3 separate regions of the Homo sapiens genome follow, and regions 2 and 3 are each linked to region 1. Evidence: promoter capture Hi-C in 16 types of primary human blood cells and fetal thymus (Javierre and others, 2016). All regions are on one chromosome and are shown on one strand. The core of a region is centred on a gene start or on the middle of the fragment in contact, and the rest is flanking DNA. Distances in the headings are between cores, read along the strand shown. Region 1 holds the start of NR1I2 (nuclear receptor subfamily 1 group I member 2). Region 2 holds the start of UPK1B (uroplakin 1B). Region 3 holds the start of B4GALT4-AS1 (B4GALT4 antisense RNA 1).

Region 1 (5,142 bases), core at 1,049-3,548:
CATAAAATAAGCTAAGGATATGAATAGGTAATTTAAGAAGAGAAATACAATGGCCAAGAGGGGTCCTATAAAAAGAATGCTCAACTTCATTAATAATCAGGGAAATTAAAATATTGAAATAATGGGTTGTCATTTGCACTAATTCAATGGAAAAAATAATAAAATACTGAATAAACAGCAAGCATTGTTTGGAGTGTGGAGGAACAGTAACTATCCTTCTCTGCTGGTGGGAGTACAGTCGGTTCGGGTACTGTGGAGGGCTGTTTGGCAGCCAAAAATTGAACCACATATATCCTGTGATGTGGCAATTCAACGTCTTAGTAGTTCCTCTAGTGCAATACGTGCACATGTCTAGAAGCAGACAAACACAGTGAGGTTCATTGGTAAGACTGAAAAATTGGAAAAGCTTAAATATCTATCGAAAAGAAAACGGCTAAATAAAAGAAGTGTACACTGTGAAATATGACGTAGCAGTTAAAATAAATGAAGTAGAGCTCTATACAGATATGGAAAGTCTCCAAGTCTTGCTATTGAGTGGAAAAACAGAATTAGAACAACATGGCAACAGATAGGTTTAATAGTCCATCTATGCATAGATGAACACACACACAGACACAATGGTCTGGCAGTAAATATATCACACTAAGTACTTTTGGGGAAACTGGAGATTAGGATTGACAGAATGGCCAAAGGTGAATTTAGGTTTATCTATACTGCTTTCTCATTTTCAAGGAGCATGAAATCATGTATTACTTTATAATTTAAAAAGTTATTACCTAAAAAACCTAGTCTAGTCAGTTTTGTGGTTGTCTTGGGTTTATTCCATAATAATTTTGGAACAAGTTGACAGCTTTTAGATCAGGAGTTGGCAAACTTTTTCTGTTAAAGGCCAGATAGTTAATATTTTAGGCTTTGTGGGCCATACTGTCTCTTTCGCAATTGGTCAATTTTGCTGACTCAATGAATCAGCTATAGCAGGCACTATTCCTCTCCCACATGGCCTCTAATGATATGGCCAGAGTTGAAAGGATGTTGTAGGGCAAAAACAGCCATATACAATACATAACGAATGGGCATGGCTGTGTTCCAATAAAGCTTCATTTATAAAAACAGCTGGTGGGCCAGAGTTAGCCTGTGAGCCATAGTTTGTCAACCCCAGGTTTAGACTTTTATGACATAACTAAAATATTTTTAAAGCGTATTTGTGTACCACAAAATACTTTTTCCCATTAACCAACTGATTAAATAAGCCTCTGAGGCCTCCCTTAGCATCCTTTCAACTCTGACCATATCATTAGAGGCCATGTGGGAGAGGAATAGTGCCTGCTATAGCTGATTCATTGAGTCAAGACTCAGTGGCCTCAGAGGTGTCTGTTGACCTGTCCTAGATATGGAGTGGCCTTAAAGCAGTGCCTCTGGCCATAGCTTCAGCCGAGCTGGGCTGTAAAGTGGAGAGAAGAAGGACCTGGTGGCACTGACCACATGCAGGCAAGACTCGGTTCTGTGGGACAAGGTGCCCTTTCAATAGTAGAGGTAGAAAACTCACTGGTTTGAAGCCAACTCAGCCGCAGCACTGTGCAGGGGTATGGCAGGTGCTCTGAGGGACCCCTCCTTGAAGTGGTGAGTCCTGGTGACTGTCATGCTGCTGTCCTTGGCCTCAGGGGGCTGCCAGCACTAACCCAGCAGGCCAAAAGGAATCAGGACTGAGTTGATCCCAGTTCCCATAGTCCCCAGCTCCCACAGTCCTTGGAGGTGGTATTTCCTGGGTCCAGGGACTCCAGCCCTGTAACAGGGAGCTGGTTGTATGTGTGACTTGTGGTAACTCATGCAGTAGTTAAGGCTTCTCCTGTGGTGATTTTTCTAGGAGGCTAGTGCAGGACCAGAGAGCATCAGTAATGGGGCTCAACATTAAGTGATTGTTTTCATGCTTTTTTTTTTCCACCCTAGAAATGAGGAGACAGCAGCAAGGCCAACATGATTCACGACCCACTATGATGCTGACCTCAAACAGAAGGTATATTTGTGTTCACACACATCTTTTGGCTGGAGCTGAAGGGCGGTCAGCCCCCAGCAAAAGAGAAAGAAAGAAAAACCATACCTGCTTGGTGGTAAGTTCTTTGCTCCGACTTCTCCCCTGGGGTCCACTTTGAACAATCCGGTGCAAAGGATCGATCAAGGAGTAGCTTTACCAAGGAGCCGCTGCCTTGTTCAGGACAGGAGTATTAGCTTATTCTCTTGCTTTTCTCACTGTGAACACTTGGCTTGCAGGCTGAGGCCGAGATTCCCACTGAAGTAAAGGCAGTGCTTCCTCTTCCCGTCCTAGTCATAGGTTATGATTTCCCCGGATATGAGACAATCTTGTCTCTCACCTATATTTCAGTCCAAGTCAGATGTAGGCACTAAGCGGCTCCATTGCCCCTCCTAAGTCCCAAGTCCAGCACTTGAACTAGCAAATGAAGAGATTACCGTATTTGTTCTCATTATGTTCTCCCTACTTTTTTCTTTCAGGTCTCTTCACTACAAAAACACAGGAAAAGGGGAAGAGAGTGGCAAATATCCGCTTTGTCTAAGTAATTCTGAGTGCATTTCATCAGTCTGAGGGTCTCTGTCCTTTACCACTAGGGGCAACATTAATTTGAACCTAGATCTCCTTATACTTCCTCCTTTGTTGAAACCACCTCCCTGGATAGTGTTACTTGATGTGAAAGTGAGCAAAGTATTGATTTATGACGGTGCCAATCACCAGCATGGTTATGTAAGAGGGGGGCAGGCACACAGGGAGAGGGAAAGGGTGTGAGATGAGGGGGCTGAGCACAGTTCTCGAGAATGTGACCCCACCACTTTGATCTCAGAACAGAAGGCTGACCAGGAGTGGGGAGGATGGACCAGCTGAGGGCTCTTTCCTCTCCCGGGTCCTGCCAGAGGGGAGCTGAAGAGTCCTCACTCTTCAGCCTCAACCTTCTTATTCCCTAGCAGCAGGTGCTCCCAAGTGAACAGAATCAACAAAAGCCGAATGTGGTGGATACCAGGATGTGTTTCTTCTACTTGCTTTGTTTATAAAGATGCTTTATGGCAGGTGAGGGGAGTGGAAGTAACTGCTCCTACCTAAAAGGCAAACAAGTACAAGCCTCTGGCAACAGTAAAGCAGGGGCATGGGCCCCAACAAGAGAGGGAGAGGGAGACCACGATTGAGCAAACAGGTAGAAAAGAGAACCTGGGATTGCCAAAAAATGACCACAGTTGTCTTCAGGTGAACATTTGGACTTCCTTACATTTATTTATTGACTTAAGTTGTTATTATTTTGAAGTACATGCTTTAATCCAGCCCTGGTGAGAAAAGCCAGAATATCTAAGTATGATTTGTTTGTTTTGTTTTTAATTGGTTTCTTCTCTATCCAATTTGCACTTCCCAAGGGATGAGAAAGACTTGAGGCTGGGATTTCCTAGGGGTTGACATTTCTCAAGTGGATGCTTGCCTTGCTGTTTTCAACCAAGCGCAGAATGTAAGGTGCTTACACAGCTCACTGCTGGGGACTTACTGCCAGCAGTGGGGACTGGGACCCACAGCCATAGAGCTCTGTCCTTTTTCCAGTCACATTTCTGATTATCCACATGGGATTCTGCTAGGGCTAGGAGGTATTGGATTACAAATCCCACTGGACAGAAAGTTGACTTGGGCCTTAGGCAGGGAGGACCTAGAGTAAGTGAAATATTGAATGTCATGAGGATATTGGAAAGAAAAAGAGTAAGTGAAATACTGGATTTCAGTACCAGTGGAAGTAGCCTGAACAGTGTGCTCTGGGGTAGGAGGACAGCATGGGGCTATATCTGGGGCCTGCAGGTCCCCTGAGAAACACAGATCAGAAGGCCATGGCTAAAGCCAAAGAGGGTGGGAAAGCTGGAAAGGGTTAAGAACTCACCCCAGGAAACTTATTTCCAAGATCAAAAGTAGGCCTTTCTGCACTGACAGGTATCTCCAAGTCCAGGGAAAAAAGGCATGACTCCAGCTCAGGTAGGCCACCTTGCCAGAAGTCCTTAGGTTATGGGTAACATACGTAGCTTTCATCATCTCTCAAATCCCTTCTGGCTCACAAGGGCCTGACCTTCTCTCTCTTAAAAATATAGTGAATTATTTACAGCAGAAACAGGAAACTAAGAACAGATTATGAAACCACTGAGGTAAAGGAAATATTCTCAGGTTTCTGCAGGGATCTTTGGGTCTCTTTTCCTTTGGGTCTGTGGTGTGAAGTCCCAGCTAGAAGACAGGAGAAGGCTGTAGGAGTGCCAGGCCTCTCTAGTCTAGCACTGCACTGTTAATATCAGACATGGCTCTATAGTGAAATGAGTTAAGAATACAGCCAGAAAATACACTCTCGTTCTTAAGGACAGCTTACTAATGCCCTCAGTTGAGGGCCAGAGTCACTCTCAAGCCCAGCTGGGAAGTCAGAGAAATTTGAGGCCTTGACCTCCATTCTATACTTTGCCTATTGCAGCAACCAGAAATGTAGAGCTCCTAAGAAACTCATCAGAGAAAAGCAGATCTGATCAGCCTGAAGAGTTTCTTTTTTTTTTTTGAGACAGTGTTTTGCTGTGTCACCCAGGCTGGAGTGCAGTGGCATGGTCATGGCTCACTGCAGCCTCAACCTCCTGGGCTAAAGCAATCCTCCCACCTCAGCATCCCAAATACCTGAGACTACAGGTGTGTGCCACCATGCTTGGCTAATTTTTTTTTTTGTTTTTCTTTTGTAGAGACGAGGTCTCATTATGTTGCCCAAGCTGGTCTCAAACTCTGGGGCTCAAGCAATCTGTCTGCCTTGGCCTCCCAAATTGCTGAAATTACAGGCATAAGCCATTGTACCTGGCCAGTTTCCTCAGTGTGAATTCATTTAATGTTTTACCCCTCTCCAGAGAATATTAATATTTAAAAAGAGGAACAGAGAGAACAAAATAAAAGAGTGATGCACTGATGATATAAATTCAGGTGGAATCTGAGGAAAATAGGTGTTTATCAGCCAGTCACATGGTCTTTCTCAAAAATCTCTTAGCCTCCCTCTGGGGTGTGCTCAGGGGCACTTAGGGCAGGAGCATGGAGGTGACACTCTGATCCCCATGAGGCAGTCTTGGAGGAAACTTCTCCCTTTT
Region 2 (5,142 bases), core at 1,838-4,337, 610 kb after region 1:
CAGCAACTGCCCGCGTTAGAGATGGAACGCCCCAGACTGAAAGTACGCAACTCACCTCGAAATATTTTCCATGTAAAGGAATAGCCCCTGTGCACCCCGCCCTGTGGGAAAACTGCCCTGTGGCCTGGTATGATGATGATTTACTCAAATTGCTCAATACCCTGGGAGTTCCTTTGCTTTAAAGAGTGCAGATTTTTTTAAAGCTAGAATTATATTTCTTGTTTTTTCTTTATTGTGCTTTCACTCAGTTTGTTTTCCTATAAAAATTAATCATACCCGTAGTGTTGATGTTTCCAGACACATTGAAAGGTCTAAAAACAATTGCTCACTAAACAAACCAATTTGCAAAGCAGAAGAAAAAGAAGTGAGACTCGCCCAGTAAGCATGAGATCATTTTTTCAAGTTCATTACCTCTTTTCCTCACCCAAGTTTGTTGTACCAGAGAACACACAAACCACACCTCAAACTTTAGTTCATGCTAGAGAAATTTGAATTAACAAAGGAGAAAAAAAGAAAAGGAAAAATAGGAGAGGAAGAAACAAAGAAACACAATATGCGATTGCCTTAGCCCTCACCCTGAAACTCAGCACAAGAACAGACACTTCCTTGGCTCAGAGTAAAGATGGGTGTGGAGATTGTAGGTCACAACAATTGCTGGTCTGCTTCAACTTAAGGTAGGATAAGTCCCTGGAAATAACAAAAAGAGGAGGTTTCTCCCAGGGCTGTCACCCATGGCTCACAGTGCCCATAAGTTTTTCTTGCTTTAAAGCTCTAAACCTGTGTTGACTAATACAGTAGTTAGTAGTTGCATGCAGTTATTTAAAGTCAAAAGAATTCAATTAAATAAAAGTAAAAATCAGTTCCTCAGTTGCTCCAACCACATCTCAAGCACTCCCTAGATACATGTGGTTAGTGTCTATTATCTAGAACATTTCCCTCATCACAGAAAGTTTTACTGGACAGCACTGCTCTTGATTCCTGGTGCTCCCAGTATGATGGGAGTCATCCACCCATTGGAAATCAGGGACTAGCTGTAAGCAATGGCTCAGGAGCACTCAGTTGCACGAGGGCCTCAGGTGTGGGCATTGCCAGAGAGATGCCCAGCTCCAGGGCAGGAGTACTATGGAGAGTCCTTGGGGCGGGGGGGAGGGGGTGGGCAGGCGGGTAGGGCGGTGTGTGATGATGGTGCCCCCTCACCAATGTGGTCTCTGTCCCAGTTGGTGAATGGTGGCCCATCAAGTTTGTGGGCAGCCTGCATGGCTATCAGGCACAAATTCCAGAGCATATTTAAAGGCTGGCTGGTGTTTACTCTGGTTAAGATTGTAAGCAGGAGAAGTCAAAAAGAAGTTCTGAGTTTTGGCCGGGTGCGGTGGCTCAAGCCTGTAATCTCAGCACTTTGGGAGGCTGAGGTGGATGGATCACGAGGTCAGGAGATTGAGACCATCTTGGCTAACACGGTGAAACCCCGTCTCTACTAAAAATACAAAAAATTGGCCGGGCGTGGTGGCAGACACCTGTAGTCCCAGCTACTCGGGAGGCTGAGGCAGGAGAATGGCATCTACCCGGGAGGCAGAGCTTGCAGTGAGCAGAGATCACGCCACTGCACTCCAGCCTGGGCCTCAGAGTGACTCCGTCTCAAAAAAAAAAAAAAAAAAAAAAAAAAAAAAAAAAAGAAAATAAAAGAAAAAAAAAGTTCTGAGTTTCTTTTTTTTCCCCTTGATTAAATGATGTCTAAGGTCCCCTTTGGATGTAAAAGTCTATGATTCTTCCCAGCAGTTAAAAAAAAAAAAAATAGGTGAGTTGATTTTAAAGACTATTTTATAGCAGAAAGCAAAACAATCTGTTGGAGCAGAAAGCAAAGTAAGAAATTTTTCTCCTCACTGAGAAGGTTAATAAAAAGAAAATCCACTTCTTCATAGGGTCTGAAAACTATGTAACCTAAATTTTGTTTATACTCAAAGTATGTATATCTATAAAACCTAATGAGTTCTTTCCTGTTGTGCTTAGCAACTCAGGCAAGAAATGTTCAAGAAACGTTGTCTTTCATTAAAAGAAGACATTCAAGTTAACAAAACTTCTTTAAAAATTTATTTTTATTTTTTTTAGAGACAGGATCTCACTATGTTGCCCAGCCTGGACTAGAACTCCTGATCACGTGGCCTCAGCTTCCCGAATAGCTGGAACTGCAGGCATGTGCCACTGTGACTGGCTACGAATTCTTAAATGGCTTAAAAATCTTTAAAACTAGTTAGAAGTGGAGTTTTAGGTTTATAAACAAATGCAAACATAAAATAATACTAGCATTATTTGAAACTTAAATTTGTATTTTGTGTGAAAATGTGATCAGAATGAAAAATATCTTTATGTCCTGCAGATCATGGTGGAGCAAAGAATTGGTAAGGAGTAAAAACAAATTATGTAAAAATAACATTGCGTAGATAAAGCTACTTTGTTGACTTACTTCAACTGACACATTTATTAAGCAGAAGTGTTTGCAGAGAATAACTGGGAGTAAATTGCTTCACACATTTCATTACAGGTTGGCAGGACCAAATGATTTCTGACAAGAAGACCAAGAAACTTTCTCTCTGCTAGCCTGAACAGATTATTAAGAAATAACACGAGCTATTTCGTTAAACTTTCTATTGCTTTTCTGACTCCACAAGGAAATTGGGGGTCTACAAAGGTGACTGTCTATGTGCGATTTAATCAGGAGATATAGGGTTTCTCGGGGTGCTTGGATTTTCTTGTTCTTTCTGTGGGGATATCTGAGGTTGAAAGCAGGATGGCTGCGTAATATCTCCAGAAGTTTAATGAGAACAAGACTTATATCAAGGGTATTAAGAAAGCAATTCCAACGGTTCAAAGTAAAAGAGAACAGGACAGTCACAATACCCTAAATTACAAAGAAAAAAATGACAGACTTTATGAATCAAGAATCTAACTTCTTCCCCTTTCCCTCCCAGTCTGCTAGCTTCCCTCCCAGGAGAGCAACCCAGCCCTTGAGCCCGGGAGATTCCCTGCAGAGGGAAAGCGGTCTACTCACAGCGCCTCCTCTTTCTGCGCACACGGTAGGGCCCGCTCCGCAGTCTGCACCCGACCCAGGTGCTTTTCTACCCTCCTGCAATTCTTTGAACCTCCAGGACCAGGGAAGGGTAGTCTGTGATTGGCAGGAGGCACCTCACATGGGCTGAGCTTTCCGCTGCCTGCCCTGCCTCGCTGAGGCGGGGGAGTAACCGGAGGCTGTCAGTTGATTTCTGCTGCTTTGGAATGTGTGACTCTGACAGATGGAAGCACCTTGACAGCCACACTCATCGCTTTCCTGGATCCCTCCTAGGTTTGGGCTTTACTGGAATACAAACTCAGGGATTTTATTTTGATTTGATTTGATTTGATTTGTGTAATTTGATCCTTACTCCTGCTTTTGTGTGTTGAAGGCTTGTTAGTCCTGACCGCTCACAGCGATGCTGATATGTGCTTACCTGTGTAGGGCCATGTCCAGTTTTAGTTTCTATAATTTGCATATGCCAAATTCAGAGAGACAGTAATTGCCCAAGTAATGCTCATACTGTAGGTGGCCCAAAGACTGATAAGGAGCAAGAGATGTGGAAAGAAACAGATTGGGAAAAATTCACGGAGAGAGAGGGCTCAAGTGATTATCTGATGTCCAATTCTTCCCTCCCCTCTTCTTCCCTCCCTTTCTCTTCTCTTCCCTTCCCTTCTTTTTTCCTTCTTCCCTGACTTCTGGAGCCATCATGTGTTATACATGGCACCCAGAACATTATTTTAATGGCTGCATAACCTATCATGGTATACATGCGCCATCGCTTGTTTAACCTGAGTTAGGAATCGGTAACTGCAGTAATGTTAGAATTTACTGAGTGCTTTTACCAATAGACTTGGGAGTTCCTCAAAGGTCAGCATCATCTCTGTTGCAGGTTAGGTTGTTCAGGAGCAGACTTTGAGACAAAATTTAGTGTGCAATATATTTATTAGACAGTGCCCTGAGATTAACACCCATGGCAGGGAGAGGGGAGAAACAGGACTGGGCAGAGGAAGAAGTTGAGCTGCAATATAGATGGGACAGTCTTAAGCAGCCCTCCTCAGGAAACTCTGGAGGAAGATGGCCTGTCAGAGTAGCTCTGACACTGGGCTCCTCTATGATCTGCCCTTCAATGTGGATTACCCTGGGAAGGCAGCTTTCTGTAGCTGAGGCAAGTCCTGAAAGGGGCTGATAACTGGAGGCTGGAGGTTGCAAGTACTCCCAGCAGCAGGGCAACCTCCCACTTCAAGGGGGACTGCATGGAGCACCTCTGTGTCCATCACAAGGCCTTATTCCTCTGCAGCTCTTCAGGGCCTTGTTAGATAAATTATCATATTTCACACAATAGAATTCTGTGCAATGGTTAAAAATGACACCACAGATAAACATTTAATGGTATGGAAATAAGTTCAGTCATTTATTTGACAAATATTTATTGAAAACTTAGGATGTGCCAGGCACTCTTCTAGAGGCTGAAAATGAAAAAGCGGTTTACAAAATAGTTTGTGTAATCTGACACATTTTAATTTTTAAGAAAGTTTACCTATGACTTAAAAAGTTAGAAATAGTATACAGCAAACATTAACCAGAATATATCTGAATGGTAAAATATGGGTGACTTTTACAGTCTTCTATTTTTGCAGTTCATATGTTTACAAAGGATCTATATTATAATTATAAGAACGTACAAGTTATTAAAAACATGTGCTGTCCTGGAAATATTTGTGATAAAGTAGCAAGGAAGCAAACAAGGACATGTGAATTTTCATTCATGTCTTAGGCATTTTATGTTCCATTACCATGATTATATGGGGAGAAAACAAAAAGATTTGAAAATCTTCAAAATAGATAATGTGAACACAAACCCAATAACAAGAGACAAGAGACTAGCTAGGAAAAGGAAGATTAGTTTTCAGATAATAACTGCAACTGAATAGTTGAGGAACGTCAAGTCGTTAATGTATGACAGGCTTATTTTTTTCCAGTTAATTTATTTCTAACTCTCTTCTGCTAATCTTCCTTTCTCTCTGGCTAGGTGGCTCCCTTACCCACATCTTAACCTGATTCCAAGCTCATCAGTGAATTCTCATTACTAATAT
Region 3 (5,142 bases), core at 1,123-3,622, 560 kb after region 1:
ATAGATAGATCTCATGCCTCTTGCTCTTTTTATAAGTGCTTTAATCCCACCTGGCAGCTCCACCCTTATGATGATCTCATCTAAACCTAGTTACTTCCCAGAGGCCCCACAGTGGGCATTAGGAATTCAACATATGAATTTTTGGGGACACAGACATTCAGTCTGTGTACCCCTTTCCTAGTTGAGTCACAGTCCTGTATTGTATTCATATTGGCATGCTGCTTCTCTTTAGTCATGGAAGAGTCAAAGTGTTATTCCTGATTGTGTATTCCTTCACAGATTATACAAGCTGCGATGTAAAAATGAGTCAGGGAAATGCAAATTTTACTGGCTGATTATTCCCCTTGCTTAAAATGCTCACAGTATATTTAAACAGTAAATTCATTCATAAAGAATAGAGGGACAGTGATGCATTACTGGGCAAGTACTGGACTAAAGGTGATGTGGTTGGTGATGACTTAAAATGGGCCATTAGTGACCCAAGGAGGGGCAGATCTTGAGAAGATGTTGGGGTAGGGGGAGTGATAGGGAGACTGATAGAGAGTAAGTGGAAGCAGATACTAGGTTAGGGCACGTAAAAAGTTATGACGATGAGAAGGTGAGCCGGGGGACTAGTTTATATTAGACCTGTTGCGTGAGGCTCTTTGAGCGCGCAAGAACAGAGACACAGTCAGGTTAACGATGGGGATTGTGAACAGGCCACACAGGAGACCATCTCAACAGCTACCCCATTATCTCTGGTAGCTCGATAGCCCAGCATCAGCTCTAGTAGTTGTCATCTGTGTAACTCCATTCCTTACTGTTTGTTTTTAGGGCATTACTGACTGCTGTGTCTTGCATGTAGACCCTGCAGGAAGGCTCTCGTAGGCCAATTATTCTCTTTGGGTGGCTTGAAGAAGTTACTTACCTTGCCTGCTGTTGAGCAGAGCACCAAGGTGCCATTAGACACGTGAGCCTGGTCTAAGCAGCCATGGCCAGGGTAGGGGATGGTTACATGGAACAAGTCATGGCGACTTTCGCACAGGAAGGGCCTATGACTGCTTTACTCAGAAGGGGATAGCTCAATTTGCAAGCATCTTGAGATTTTACAGCCTGACCAGTATACGTGGAATTTAGAAACAAACAAACAAAAAAACCTGAGCTGTTTTCCTCCTGTGGATGGCTTTGGGTTTCATCTGTTTGGATTGCTTCCAGACACTGAGCAAATACTGTGCTCGATTGGAAACGTCTGTTGTGGTGGCAAAATGGGAGAGTTGTTGCAGTGCCACACATACCTGTTACAGCTGGGTTAGGGAGGGAGACTGGTTTCTACTTCTTTTTAGTGCTTTGCTTACAGGGAGCCAGGGTGGTTCCAGAGTTTAGGGAAGGGGTGGGAAGAGTGCCTTGTCCAGGAGCTTGATTCTGTGGAATGCTGTTGATATTTAAGAGATTTTCCCCTCCTCCTGGAATTTGGTGAAGGAAAAGAGGATAGACCAAAGTTGAAGTTACTCTGTCTAGCCCTGCCCTTTGCTCTTACCAGAGTTCACCAGGATATTCCCTCTTACAGATGGATCATAGAGCAAGTTGATTACCCAGCCACAAGGAAATGCTTATATTATATATCCACCACTTGCTTTTGCAGCCAGTAACCTTAGTGACATGATGCTCTGGCCATTATCATGACTAAATGAGCCTTTAAAGTAATCATAATAAAAGCTGACATTTGTAGTACTCACTGTGAGCTGGGCAGTGTTCTTTCTATGCATATTAGCTCGTGTAAACCTCAACACTTTTTGAAGTAGCTACTGTTATTGTCTGTGTCCTATGTTCATTGTAGGAGGCCAGAGCAAGCTCATTTTCAAACCAGATCTCACTTTGGAAGAGGTACAGGCAGAAAATCCCAAAGTGTCCAGAGGCCGGTATCGCCCTCAGGAATGTAAAGCTTTACAGAGGGTCGCCATCCTCGTTCCCCACCGGAACAGAGAGAAACACCTGATGTACCTGCTGGAACATCTGCATCCCTTCCTGCAGAGGCAGCAGCTGGATTATGGCATCTACGTCATCCACCAGGTGAGCGTGGGGGCAGACCAGGGCCTGCCCTCGACCCTCCTCTTCTCTGCCAGACTTGGCCATGTGACTGTTTGTCTATGTTGGGTAAAAGGAACATCAGACTATCATCAAAAACGAGTTCTCTTACCTCATTTATCCTTGAAAGGAGTAGAGGAAATTCTTGTCTCAGAGTGTGGAGTTATGGGTTCAAGTTCTGGGAAATTTTACTGCCCTTAAAGGAACCTCTGGAGGAAGCCTGTTTTGTGAGCCCTTCCATGTTAGCCAATGACTGCCCTCAGATTTCCCCGGAGGCTTCCTGGCCCCTTCTGTTTCTTTCTGTGCGTGCCATGCACTATATGATGAGATTCTGGAATTGTCTGTCATTATCAACCATAGCAACTCAATGGGGATCTAGACAGAGGATTTGAAAGAACATTCTGTATTAGTAGCTGTGGTGCTCTATGGCTGCCACCACATTTCTGCCCTGAACTTTGCCACTATTTATTATGTGAAACATATTATGTTTGATTTTCACTTTCTGGATTCATCTATTTGACTTCCAGAAGCATGATTTGGTAGGAGCACAGCATAACTATCGGCTGCTTTTGAAGAGCTTACCTCTGAGGTCAGTGGAGTGGATGATTAAAGATACCTCTATTTGGCATTAAAGTTTATTGAAAGAAAACTAAGACATCAGTTTAAACATCAGTGTCTAAACTTTTCACAGTTATCCTTGGCCATCCAAGGAGGCCAAGAAGAGGGATAATTCCCCCTCAAATTCTTATAAATTCTAAGAATGTCAGCAAAATCATCACTACTGTTAGAACAGGTAATATTTCTTTTAGATAAAACTTTGGACAACTCAGAGGACCAGCTCTGCAGTATAGACTTGGTGATAAACTGAGGCTCTTGAAAATCAGTGTGCTTATATAGCACACCTATGTCTGTATTTTAGTACTTGGAACAAAATGTTACTATTATATTGTTTTATAGCTATTTTTGTTTTTAAGGTTGTTGGTCATAGTTATGATTTATTTGATTCTGAGTTCTTGCTCAGGACAGTAACCTACAAGGTATAGTACTATTTTTATGAATAGAAAAACATGTTTGCTTTGGGCCAGGCCCGGTGGCTCAGCACTTTGGGAGGCCAAGGTGGGTGGATCACTTGAGGATAGGAGTTTGAGACTAGCCTGGCCAGCATAGTGAAACCCTGTCTCTACTAAAAATACAAAATACTCTGTTAAAATACTAAAAAAAAAAAAAAAATTAGTTGGGTGTGGTGGCACATGCCTGTAGTCCCAGCTACCCAGGAGGCTGAGGCAGGAGAATCACTTGAACCCAGGAGGTGGAGGCTGCAGTGAGGTAAGATCACACCACTGCACTCCAGCCTGGGCAACAGAGCGAGATTCCATCTCAAATTAAAAAAAAAGAAAAAGAGAAAGAGAAAAATATGTCTGCTTCGTGTTATTCTTATCAGGAAAACATTGTGGTAACTTCTGAGAAATACTTGCACTTTTATGATAAACCACTTAACTGGAATTCATTCTGAAGGAATTTGAATGAAGCAGCCATGAAAAAATTATTTAATTTTTTTATTACAGCTTCAATCATATTACAGGTCAAACTGTGTTCTTTTATTGCCCAGTGACGAATCTACCTCCATAAGGCCACTGTGAGGATTAGCCTCCACCAGTAGCATTATAACAGGATTCTCTTACAGGGATTTCTGAGAAACTTTAAAGTAGCTTAGAAATATTAGCAATAACTTTCTCTTTCTATAGGTTGAGATTTCTTGATCCTTTCTGGCAAGCTATTAACTAAGTCTCTTAGAAGCTTAGTGTAAATTCATAACAGAGGGTAAGATTGGGATTACCTAGGGTTGAACTGTGAAGCAGTAATACTAATTGACATGACTAGTATATAAGAAAGGTTTTGTAGTTTTATACAGAATACGTAAAGGTATTTGTAAAATTTTAAGAGAAAATTTTTTTTTGTTAACTGTGGTAAGAATATTTAACATGAGAGCTATACTCAATACATTTTAAGTGTACATTATTATTGATTATTTGAGTTATTTGTATTTTAAAGCTGCTTTTAAAAAATTTTTAATTGTGAAACACACGATGTAAAATTTACCATCTTAACTTTTTTTAACTTTTTAAAATTTTTGCTATCTTAACTATTATTGAGTGTGCAGTTTAGTAATGTTAAGAATATTTACATGCAATGTATCTATGCATAATTATGCAATATATTGGTTGCATAAATATATGCAGTGTATTTATGAAATCAATCTCCAGAACTTAATCTTGCAAAACTGGAACTCTCTATCATTAAACAACAAGTCTTTGGATTTCAAGGACTGTTTCTAAGTTCTGGAATATAAGTATGTGTGAAGCACGAAGAAAAAAATCAAATGGTCTTTTATTGTCATTGCATCTTCTCTGTCAGATCTTTATGTCACAAGTGTAGTCTCGTGCGTAGAATAATTAGAATAATACCATCTCCTGAATCCTAACTAAGAGGCAAACAATATGAAACTTTATCTCAGGAGCTTTTCAAGTTTTAATTTTCATATCTCTAGGCTGAAGGTAAAAAGTTTAATCGAGCCAAACTCTTGAATGTGGGCTATCTAGAAGCCCTCAAGGAAGAAAATTGGGACTGCTTTATATTCCACGATGTGGACCTGGTACCCGAGAATGACTTTAACCTTTACAAGTGTGAGGAGCATCCCAAGCATCTGGTGGTTGGCAGGAACAGCACTGGGTACAGGTAAGGTGGTTCTGCTGAGGGTGGCTTAGGTCGAGAAGCTCAACTATTGTGATCAAGACTGGGTGGAACAAGCATCCAGAGTGTCATAAGAAAATGAGAAATAGAAAAAATGGTCCATAATGTATGCATCACTTAAAGTGCAAAACAGAAGTTAGAGAATGTAATGAGGAAAAAGCCCTACAACTTCAGCAGAGGATCACAAAGACAAGGGAAAGCATTGGAGAGAAATATCATCCAAGCATTGCAGGTGGTGGCCAGTCTCACCCGCAGCGCCCCTGTCGGGGGGCTTTCGCAAGCTTTCCCACACTGACTAGAATGCAAGTAACTTGTTTGTCTATTCCT

The links. The method cuts DNA at HindIII sites, captures the fragments that hold promoters and counts their contacts. A CHiCAGO score of 5 or more calls a contact.
Region 2: a contact is called between the fragment with the promoter of UPK1B here and the fragment with the promoter of NR1I2 in region 1, in 4 of 17 cell types (monocytes, total CD4 T cells, total B cells and 1 more). The highest score is 8.1, in monocytes.
Region 3: the fragment with the promoter of B4GALT4-AS1 here is called in contact with the fragment with the promoter of NR1I2 in region 1 in 8 of 17 cell types (naive B cells, erythroblasts, total B cells and 5 more); the score reaches 12.7 in naive B cells.

The regions. Positions count from the first base shown.
Region 1 is chr3:119,779,257-119,784,398 of GRCh38, reverse strand. It overlaps NR1I2 (nuclear receptor subfamily 1 group I member 2), which reads right to left and starts at 2,298. Exons shown (of 9, transcript NM_003889.4): 1 at 2,099-2,298. The HindIII fragment of the contact is 6,406 bases long and covers 1,098-5,142 here.
Region 2 is chr3:119,171,543-119,176,684 of GRCh38, reverse strand. It overlaps UPK1B (uroplakin 1B), which reads right to left and starts at 3,087. Exons shown (of 8, transcript NM_006952.4): 1 at 3,047-3,087. The HindIII fragment of the contact is 9,656 bases long and covers 1-5,142 here.
Region 3 is chr3:119,223,716-119,228,857 of GRCh38, reverse strand. It overlaps B4GALT4-AS1 (B4GALT4 antisense RNA 1), which reads right to left and starts at 2,372. Exons shown (of 4, transcript NR_046574.1): 1 at 2,177-2,372. It overlaps B4GALT4 (beta-1,4-galactosyltransferase 4), which reads left to right. Exons shown (of 8, transcript NM_003778.4): 4 at 1,817-2,049; 5 at 4,613-4,800. RefSeq lists a silencer at 3,398-3,570. The HindIII fragment of the contact is 1,940 bases long and covers 1,924-3,863 here.